Linked DNA regions of Homo sapiens: regions 2, 3 and 4 are each linked to region 1. Evidence: promoter capture Hi-C in 16 types of primary human blood cells and fetal thymus (Javierre and others, 2016). All regions are on one chromosome and are shown on one strand. Each heading gives the region's core, a stretch centred on a gene start or on the middle of the fragment in contact. The rest is flanking DNA. Distances are from core to core; before and after follow the strand shown. Region 1 holds the start of UBE3D (ubiquitin protein ligase E3D). Region 2 has its middle 8.8 kb from the start of BCKDHB. Region 3 overlaps NT5E (5'-nucleotidase ecto). Region 4 has its middle 3.0 kb from the start of NT5E.

Region 1 (2,621 bases), core at 56-2,555:
AGGAGAGTAGTCCAAGGGAACTGTGAAAGGCCCCTGCATGAGAGGAAGGGAGGGTTTGTTGTGTGTGTGTGGTTTTTGTTTTATTTTGGTAGGGTTTGGGTTCCTAATTACTCTACAAGGTGCACCAGAATTGGAGATATTTGTCCAAATTCATAAATTTTGAAAGAGAAAAAGAAATACATTCAGAGTACTATTATTCCCATTTCAAGATTGAAGAAATTCAGATTAAATTATTCTAATTTCGTGAGGAAGCTAGCATTTGAACTCAGTTCTCACGCCATATTCCAAATTGCCACACCAGATATCTGGCAGATTTAGGGAAGAGGAAAAAATTAAGCATCAATCTACCTGTGGCACCGTGTAATACCATTCTCAGGATTTTAACTTCTAACTTACTCTCTTTGAAACAGCGATCACAAAGGAATAGACAAGGGGACCACAAATCATTAAAACTGCTGTCAAACAAAATAGAGAACATTTTTCCTAAAAGTTATTTGTGTAGCGAATAACAAGTTTGACGTTCTCACTGGAAGGAAGAATATGAATAAATGAACGAGCTCCAGTAAGAAGTCTACAACCTGTCTTAGTGGTTCACTAAACTCACGTTTATTGAATGATTGTGTGGTTTCTCTGCAAAGAGCAGTTTTGGACGAAAAGACCCGAGGTTATTTACAAAACAAGAAGCTCACATAGGAACTGATCCAGTAAGGAGGATCCCGAAGAGAGACAGACAAATCATTTTTTGCATTGTTTTGTTGGAAACGCCGGGCACTGCCAACAGTGTTTTACATCACTGTTCCTCAAATTTTAATGTGCATTTGATTCCTGGAAATCTTGTTAAAATATAAGTTTTGATTCCATAAGTCTGGTGTGGAGCTGAGACCCTGAATTTCTAAAAAGCTCCCCAAAGATACCCACACTGTCAGTAGGGGTGGGAGTGGCGGAGCCGACTACAGGGGAAAGCTTCACTTTGAGTGATCGAGAGGCTCTACGCAACTGGAAAGAAGAAACTCAAAATCCCTCGTACAGAGAGAGACTCACCAGCCCCCGACCCCCGGGCAGCAGTAAAGCGAGCTGGGCACTGCGCCTAGAATCCCAGTTCTTACCCCAGGATCAGAAGCGCGCTCTGCAGCTGTCCCCGCACCTCCAGAAACACGCGCGTCTCCGCCGCAGAAGCCGCCATGGCAGGCTTCCAGTCCCAGACCGGACCAAGCTGGAGGTTCCGAGGGGCCCGGGTCAACAGGACCAGGAGAGGTTCCACGTGCGGACCAACCAGCGGCAGCCCCGCTGCGGCGCAGGCGCCTGTGCCAGATCGCAGGGCTGGCGCCGCCTACCAGCTCACAGCGCCACCTGCCGGCCGGAGAGTGCACCACCGAGAAGGCGCGTGACCCCGGAGGCCGGGGCGGGGCGCGCATTTTCAAAACCAGGCTTTGGCCCAGAGTGCTGAGAAAGGTGGGCGGCGAGAGGCTAGCTATCGCCCCACTCTGCTTCTTATGAGCGTGACTTGGCGCGTTAGCATCCCTGGAAATGACCATAAAAATCAGACCCAGGGTTCACACCTTTGGCTAGCTCGAAGGGAGGGAGATGATGGAGGCAAGTGTTACAGGTGGGCTTTGTCCCCAGGAGATGCAAGAACAGAATTCCCGGCCCCAAACCCACTTTATCTTGGTCTCTTTATGAACAAGGGTCGTTTGTTAGCCTCTATCTAAAGCGACAAAATTTTCAAGAATTGACTTGCCATTGCTTCTCAACTTAGACAGGATAGCTCCAAAATTGAAACAGGTGCAAAAATATAAGGAAGTTCTTTGTTACCTAATGCAGAAGAGTGTGGCTGAAGTCTATCAGGACTAACCATTTTTTAGGGGGTAAAAAAGGAAGATGAGAATGATTACGTATGTACAGCTCCACTATTCACTTTCACAAAAGTAAAAACTAAGAGAAGTTGGAGAAGTTTACTACCAGAAGATAGTTTTGAAAAGTTTGACACAGTAAAGAACCTGGTATAATGTAAATACTTATAATGAAGAACTATTAAAATATAAGACCGGGTAGAATTACAATAGGGCTTCTTAAAAACAAGGAGCTGCTTTTATTTATTTATTTTTTTTCGGAGTCTCGCTCTGTCGCCAAGGCTGGAGTGCAGTGGCGCGATCTCGGCTCACTGCAACCTCTGCCTCCTGGGTTCAAGCGATTCTCCTGCTTCAGCCTCCCGAGTAGCTGGGATTACAGGCGCACGCGCCACCATGCCCGGCTAATTTTTCTGTTTTTGGTAGATCCGCCCACCTTGGCCTCCCAAAGTGCTGAGATTACAGGTGTGAGCCACCATGCCCAGCCTAAACCATAAATAAATTCTAAATAAATAAATCCTGTCATATATTTTAAGATAATAGCTTGACAATTTTTCTAAAATCAGTATTTGGGGTGATTAAAGTTTATTATGTTGATGCACAAATTATTATATCTATCACAATAATTTGAAGTTATAGATGGAAGCAACAACTCACTTAAAAAAATAAAGTTTACTATTATTTGGTCTCAAATAATTCATCTATTTGAAGGATGATGATTTCAACTCTTCATATCTTCCACCTTTAGTACCCGAGGCTATTGAATGCTTAAAT
Region 2 (2,621 bases), core at 86-2,585, 3.0 Mb before region 1:
TTGTTGTAGAATTGTCCATTTCTCCCATCATTTCTGTCAGTTTTTGCTCCGTGTATGTTGGTACTCTGTTGTTAGGTGCATATATGTTTAAAATTGCTTATATTTTCCTTATGAATTGACCCTTTTGTCTTCATAAAAGTATCCTTCTTTATCTGTAGAAACCGTATTTTTGTTTTAAAGTCTATTTTTTTCTAATATTAGTATAGCCTCTCTACCTTTCTCATGGCTGGTGCTTGCAAGATATATCTTTCTATTCTTTTACGTTTAAGTATTTGAATCTAAAGTGTGTCTTCTGTAGACAGCATTTATTTGGATCTTGATTTTTCATCCAGTTTAACAATCTCTGCTTTTTATTGTCTATGTTCTTTTTTTACCTCTGTTAAAATGATTACTTTTTCCATTTACCTCTGTTAAAATGATTACTTTTTCCTTTTTCAGTCTGTTGATATGGTGAATTGCATTGCTTGATTTTCAAATGTTAAATCAACCTTACATTCCTATGAATTCTTATGTCCATTTGGCCTTGTTATACTGTTATTTTTATATATTGCTTTATTATATTTGCTTTTTTAAAGATTTTTGCATCTATCCTCATGAGGAATATTTGTAGTTTTCTTTTCTTATAGTGTCTTTATCTGATTTTAATATTAGGTTAATATTATCATAAAATGAGTTGGAAAATATTACCCTCTCTTCTATATATTGGAAGATTTTTTTATATAATTGGCATTATTTCTTACTTAAATGTTTGGTAGAATTCACCAACGAAGCAATCTGGGCTTGAAGTTTTGTTTGTTGGGACATTTTAAGGTATAAATTTAGCTTCTTTTGTAGATTTAGGACTATTCAGATGATCTTTCTGCTCCAAATAAAGCTTTCTCTAGACTCCCTCTACCTGTGTGAGCCAAATGTTGTCTGTTTATTTTTCATTTTCCCATAAATTTTTAGTTTGTAGATGTCTCTGTCCTAACTATGCTGTATATGTAAAATGTGTGTGTTTAATTTGCTCCCCTTTACTCTTTCTTTTTAAAAGAGAGGATATAAGAATATTCAACTTTACCACCATTTTCTACAGAAATTCCTAAGTATATTTAAGTAGTCTTCTAGTGGCAATTTTCCAGTCTATGTTGAAGAATTCAGAGGAAGTACTTTCATAGTGGGTTTTTTTCTTTTCTTTTTTTTAATGACTAGAGGGACCACATGGGTACTTCCTGGGCAGGATAACTATATAGTCATTAGGTCTTTTTTTGGCTTCCAAGCATCAATTCTCCCTTTGGTTGGTAGCAGTCCCTTGAGTTATGTCTGGGAAATCTTTTTTACTTTGTATATAGTCTTGGTCAGTAGGATACCCTACTGTTCCTTAGTCAAGGGATAGTAATGAACTAATCTAAGCTAGTCAGATTCTCTCTCCTAAAAACTGAATCTTGAGCAGAATCACATAAAGACATTGGAGCCAATTCATCCTATGAGTTTTAATATTCTCACACATTTCTAAATTAACTCCTGTTACCTGAATCTCTGGGGCCATCCTGGTTTCTGTTCTTTCTGAGGCTGCTTTTTTTCTTCAATTTTTGTGGGCCATCCTGTATTTTGAAAAGTAATCATAATTCTGTGTAAGTTAGCAAGAAGTGATTTCAGTAGTTGTGACCTAATAACCCTACTTAATAAAAGAGTGAGTGGGGAAAGGTGGTAGCTGTTCTTTTCTGGACAGAGAACACAGTGTATATAAAGGCTGTTTGTTGTTTATAGGGTTTGTGTGATATGTGGACTATTTGTATCAAAGACACTGGATGGGGGAAAGCTTATTAGAAATGCAGATAGTCTACCCTAGGCCTACTGAATAAGAATTTCTCAGCGTGGGGCCTAGAGAATCTAAAATTTGAACAAGTTTCTCAGGGATTACTCTGAGAAATAAATTTGAGAAACACAGCATAAGACCACACATTTTGAAATATGAAAAATACAGACTGGAAAACTTTAAACTGCTTAAACTCAGCTTAGTCAGTTTAATCTCTTTGATCCTGTTTTCTCATCTGTAAAGTGACTGTAGCAAGACCTTGTCATCAAGTTGTTTTAAGAGATTAAAATGTGCATAGAAAAGATTTTGGTGTTTCTTCAGTAGAGGAGAGTTGCATCAGTTTTAAGTGTTTAGATTCCAAAACCTAAGTGCAAGATAAAACTTGTGACTAGCTAAAATTACAGTTGACAACAGTTTAAATCCACAATAATAATGTGTAGCTACATTTATGCATCATGTTGTAGAAAAATGCACTTTTAGTAACTATATTACTGAGAATGTTTCCTGAAGAGTTAGGATATGTTAGAATAGCTGAACACCATGTAAAGTAGGTTTGTGATTAGAAGCCATGTTCTATTTTTAAAAGATAAAAATATACACTGTTAAATTGTTTCTCAGTCATGCTCCAGGTGAAACAAGTATGGAAGAAGGACAGGTGATTCTCCATGTAGTGTCATTCCAGTAACAGCTTATGGATGCTCTAGTTTCTGAAATGTTACTACCTGATGAGGCACAGGAAGAGAACTAGAGAAATGGCTACCAGGTGCTAAATTCTTCCACCCAAGAATGCCCGTCTGTACTTGTGGTCAAATTCATTGACTGG
Region 3 (2,621 bases), core at 47-2,546, 2.4 Mb after region 1:
CCCTATGTTCTCTGTGACACCAGGTGAGCTCTGGCACCAGTGCCCAGCAGATGATTACTGAATGATTAATAAAACTACTCACTCCACCTGCTGCTTTTAAATGGGCTCCATTTTGGTATGATTTGGTGCGTGAACCATTAAAACTTTTCAGAAGTCAGGATTTGAAACAAACTTGGTAAAAAGTAGTTAAGCAATGTCTTCGTTGTAAAGTGAGAAACCAAGTTGCTTGGAAACAGGTGAAAAGCTTAGCCAGCAGCTTCACAATTCACAGCCTGGCACTCCAGTAGCCCTCTCTGGACAATTGCCCAGGTTTTCTTGTTTTCATTTCTGTGTTTTAATTTACAAGTTACCTTTATATTTCTACTAATACCTTACTGGCACTTGTTTGTGAATGAAACAATTTTTTTGAGAGTTTGTTAATTGTTCTGTGTGAGTGTGGAAAGTTTCTTTCATATAAGATCATCAATTCTTTTTTTAAAAATAGTGTTTTAGGTTTTCTCCTACATAAAGAAAGTGGTGGGGGTGAGGAGCTGGGGGTGGACCAGATGCTCACATTGTATTTCTATGATTTTGCTGTTGGAGATACTGAAGATCATTTTGCTGGGCTTTGCTCTCTTAAATTACAGAAAAGTGCATTTGGTGAAGTTTAGTGTTTTTAGTAAACATATACAAGATGTCATAGGGATAGAATTAGTGAAGGAATAGGGTTCGTGAATGAATGAGCTCAATCTTAGTAATGAAATGTTTGGAAAGCAACAGAACAAGAGAGAAAGAGCATCAGAACATGATTTAGGTACCCCATACATTTATACAAATAAAAAAAAGATCTGATTTAGGGTCATAGAAATCACATACCTAAACTGATGGTTAAACAATAAGTGGCAAGTAACAGTTTAGCTACAAAAAATGTACAGGAACACATAAGGAAAGTTACATGGGAACTTTCAGAGAGGACCAAAAAAGGTGGAATAAGATTATCTGCTCTGTTATGATCCCCTGTATTTCTCTGCTCTATGTTCTTCTCTTGGGCAGTCTTTTCCTGAGATGTTTTCATGTTATTAATCAAAAATAATAGAAACGAATAAACTAGATCAATGCATTTACAAGATTTTTTGAGTGCCTGCAGTATGCCTCGGTGTGGTGGGAACTTGGTGTACTGAGGTGAGTAGCATGATCCTGAAGAGCTTAGGAATCACTGAGTTCTCGTAAGTGCAATAGAAGAAAAACTGGTAGAAGGAAGTCAAATGAAAATACAAGTTTCTAAAGAAAATAAGTATTTACAAAGGAATTTGTCTGCATTAATTTCTGTGGAAAAGTTAGCTATGTATAGAAGAAAGAAACTTGTTAGTAATTCTTTCATTCATTCATTTATTCATTCAACAGTGAATCCCTGCCATGGTAGTACTAACTACTTGCACTGTGGTAGTGCAAGGGATACATTTGCTGTGCAAGTAGTTAGGAATTTTTTTTTTTTTTTTTTTTTTTTTTAGTGCTTTGTGTATGCTAGGCTTTATGCAAATATACAGCCAAGCACAGAGGTTAAGAACTTTGGAATCAAACCGAAGTGGTTCTAGTCCCAGCTCCCCCTTACAAATTGTGTGATCTTCAACAGTTCATTTAACTTCTCTAGATCTCAGATTTTCTCATCAGTAAAATGAGTGCAGTAAGAGTACCACCCTCACAGCATGAAATCAGATTTTCTGTACTCTTTACTAACTCACTTTCCATGACGCTGGCATGTGGCAAGTGCTGACTCAATACTGGCTCATTTCCTTAACTGCTTTTATTTTATTCATTCACTGCCATTCCAGAGGAAACTGCGGTTCTGAGATGTGCCCTGGGTCACTGCTGAGGAGCGGACGGAGCCTGGGAGGGAGCTACCCCTGCCTTGTTTCCTCACACTTTATGGGGTGGGTGTCAGGAATGAGGCTGGAGGGGAAGGCAAAACCAGATCCCTAAGAGCCCCCTGGACCCTGCTTAGGGTGTTTACTTCTATCATAAAGGCTGTGCTTCTGTAGAGACCTAAGGCAGAGAGTGCCAAGGTCAGGTTTGCATTTGAGAAAAGTTTTTCTGGCAGCAATATAAAGAATAGTTTAGCAAAAGAAATGAGAATAGCTGGAAACCCAGTTAGGAGGCTGTGGTAGTCCAGGAGCACACTAAGGCAGCAACAATAGGTGGATGGAAACTGGAGCATTTAGGTAAGGGAGAGGGATGCCAGAGGACGTGATGGTGAGGGAGAGGGAAGAGGGTGGGACTCCACCGCACCAGGGCTTCTGGCTTTATTGACTGGGTATATGGTGGCATCCTGGGCCAAGACAGTGAGTCACAGGGAAGAGGCTTTGAGCCTGGTAAGCTTGGGACACTTTTGAGACATTGGGAGGAAATGACACATGGCAGTTGACATACAGATCTAGACGTCAGGAGAAAAGTCAGGGCTGGAGATTTTCGGTTTACAGTTGAAGGTATGAGTAGGAATGAGATCATTTACTCAGTCCATCCCACCACATTGAGCACCATGAATAAGGGGCTCCTCTCCCCATGGGGCAAGAGAGGTGAAAAGACAGTCAAAGTCACTACTTTCAGGAGGATTAGGCTCAAGTTAGGATGGGGAGGTGGAGAAG
Region 4 (2,621 bases), core at 75-2,574, 2.4 Mb after region 1:
GAGCTTTTGTAGCCTTCTCAGAAGTCCCCAGACCAAGAACTACTCCTTGGGCATAACAGGTGGCAGACAGCAAGAGGTAAACCTTTTGAGTGGACAGAGAGCCTTTATGTGAAATAGAGTTACAAATATAAAAAGACAAAAAAAAATCCTGCCCACTTGTGGAACTTTGAGCAATTAATTTAACATGTTGAAGCTCCATTTTATTACCCATAAAAGGAGAATGATATTGCAGCATTATCACAATAGTCAAGCTTTGGAATCCACCTAACTGTCCATCAATGGATGAATGGATAAAGCAAAAATGTGGAGAGTAGAATGGTGGTTACCAGGGGCTGCCTGAAGGGTTACTGGAGAGGCTGATCAAAGAATATAAAATTTCAGCTAGATAGGAAGAATAGATTCAAGAGATCTACTGTATAATTTGGTGACTATAGTTAATAACAATGTATTGCATACTTGAAAATCACTATGTGAGTAGATTTTAAGCGTTCTCACCACAGAAAAAGTGGGGGTGGGGAGCAGATAATAATATTTACCCTTCATGCTTTTGTGAAGACTTAACAATGTAACCTGAGTATTGGAATTCAATTGTGCTCAAAACCTGACTGCCACTTACTTGGACATGAATGATCTTAAGCAAATTATTCAGCCAGGTTAAATATCACATTAAGTTTTCTTACCAATAAGATGAAATATTAATAGTCATTTAACAGCATAATCCAAATGTGCCAGGATGCCTATGACAAGGTCCCTCTGTTTTCTTTCTTTTTTTTCTTTTTTGAGACAGAGTTTTGCTCTTGTTGCCCAGGCTGGAGTGCAACGGCGTGATCTCAGCTCACTGCAACCTCTGCCTCCAAGGGTTCAAGAGATTCTCCTGCCTCAGCCTCCCAAGTAGCTAGGACTCCAGGCGCCCGCCACCACACCTGGCTAATTTTGTGTATTTTTAGTAGACATGGGGTTTCACCATATTGGCCAGGCTGGTTTCAAACTCCTGACTTCAGGTCATCCACCCGCCTCGGCCTCCCGAAGTGCTGGGATTACAGGTGTGAGCCACCGCGCCTGGCCGGTCCCTGTTTTCACCCCGCATTCACCTAAAAGCAGGTCTCAGATTTTTAATTCAGCCCACCTAAATAAATCTATCTCAGCAAATTTAAAGAAAAATTGATATTTTATTAAAGACTTTGTGATAAGATATAAAATAGGTTCTCATCACAAAAGAAACTTAAATATATATTATCCATTAGATAGCTCCAGTGGTGTGCTGGTAAATGTTCAACAACTGACTCTTAAAGAAAAACGCATGCATTTATATACATACATATTTATTATAAATTTTTCTGATATAAAAGATTGTTACACACAATTTACTATTTGTAAATTTTACTATTGGTTCCTACAGACTGCTTTCATTGATTTTTGCAGAACTTTTGCAATCCATAGCCAACCTATGGTTCCGGCTGAACTGATTTGACAAATGGAGTTATATACCCATTTATTTTCTAATAAATCAATAACGTATTGTTATTGGATGTAATATGTAATCTATTATTAAAGTATTTGTCACCCTATTATATAATGAGTGTAGTACAGGCTATAGTCATTAAATTAAAACCTAGTTTTAGCACTAGATATATTGTTCATCAATGATGTGAGTGAGATTTTTCCTGAGTCAGAAAATAGTTTTCTAATATGTACTGAAATAATATTTTCTCAATTTGGGGGGCTATTCCCAATGTAATGGATATTAGCACCACACACTTTTAAGTTTATTCTGCATTATTTTGACATTTTCTTCATTACTTTCTTAAGTCTAATCAACTGATGAAACAATAAATAAAGCCCTGATTTGTATGTAAATTTTTGCCTGTATATTTTTCTTTCCTCATGGACTTGGGAAATTTTCTATGATCCTCATGGCTTTGCAGCTACTTACTGTATGCACCCTCACCTTGTTTGCAGCATTATCAGCTCCAGGACAGCCGAAATCCTTCTTGGTTCTTTCATACTATCGCCCACTGTGTCTAAAGTAGATTTTAAGTTAGTGTTACTTGAATTGCAAGTACTACTACCACTGAAGCAGCAACTCTGTTTCCATTGCTTGGGGAGAAGACCAAAAACACACATTAAACACCTGGAGAAAAAAAGTAAAACCACATTAAAGTGAGATTGTAGGAACTGACCAGAAATTTAGAAAAGAGAAAAACTCACTGCTGTGTGAAGAAGTCAAAGGAACTTCATGTTGACTTGAACAAGAAATTAAAGGAACCCCGGGCCTTGGCCTAAGGACAGACTGGAAATGGTGGTTTGGAGAGAAGAAATGAGGACAAAGGGAATGTGTGAGGAACAGTGGAAGGTAAAGTTGGCTGGATAAAATGAGACTTCAAAATGCCAGTTTGCGAAGCTTGAACTTGGTGCAATAAACAATCAAAGGCCATTTTAGATGTATATGAAAACAAATGGCATGGAAATGATATTGAAGCAGAAATCTGGTAGCATCCCCAGAACAGGAATTTCAGAAACTATTGCAGTGGCTTAGGTTTAAAAGACAAGAAACAACAAATGATCAGTTCCCCAGTGATCAGTGATAGGTCATGTTGATACCGTGTACCCACAGATACCAG

Evidence for each region. Contacts are between HindIII fragments. The CHiCAGO score rates a contact against its expected background, and 5 or more counts as called.
Region 2: a fragment that was not itself captured here is called in contact with the fragment with the promoter of UBE3D in region 1 in 1 of 17 cell types (fetal thymus); the score reaches 7.2 in fetal thymus.
Region 3: a contact is called between a fragment that was not itself captured here and the fragment with the promoter of UBE3D in region 1, in 1 of 17 cell types (naive CD8 T cells). The highest score is 5.1, in naive CD8 T cells.
Region 4: a contact is called between a fragment that was not itself captured here and the fragment with the promoter of UBE3D in region 1, in 1 of 17 cell types (total B cells). The highest score is 6.2, in total B cells.

What each region holds. Positions count from the first base shown.
Region 1 is chr6:83,064,536-83,067,156 of GRCh38, forward strand. UBE3D (ubiquitin protein ligase E3D) reads right to left here and starts at 1,306. Exons shown (of 10, transcript NM_198920.3): 1 at 1,107-1,306. The coding sequence starts at 1,183. The HindIII fragment of the contact is 10,412 bases long and covers 962-2,621 here.
Region 2 is chr6:80,096,536-80,099,156 of GRCh38, forward strand. No RefSeq gene overlaps it. Among named protein-coding and RNA genes, the nearest start is that of BCKDHB, 8.8 kb to the right of the region's middle. The HindIII fragment of the contact is 927 bases long and covers 873-1,799 here.
Region 3 is chr6:85,462,606-85,465,226 of GRCh38, forward strand. All of the region lies in intron 1 of NT5E (5'-nucleotidase ecto), which reads left to right. Among named protein-coding and RNA genes, the nearest start is that of NT5E, 14 kb to the left of the region's middle. The HindIII fragment of the contact is 2,109 bases long and covers 243-2,351 here.
Region 4 is chr6:85,445,777-85,448,397 of GRCh38, forward strand. No RefSeq gene overlaps it. Among named protein-coding and RNA genes, the nearest start is that of NT5E, 3.0 kb to the right of the region's middle. The HindIII fragment of the contact is 2,150 bases long and covers 250-2,399 here.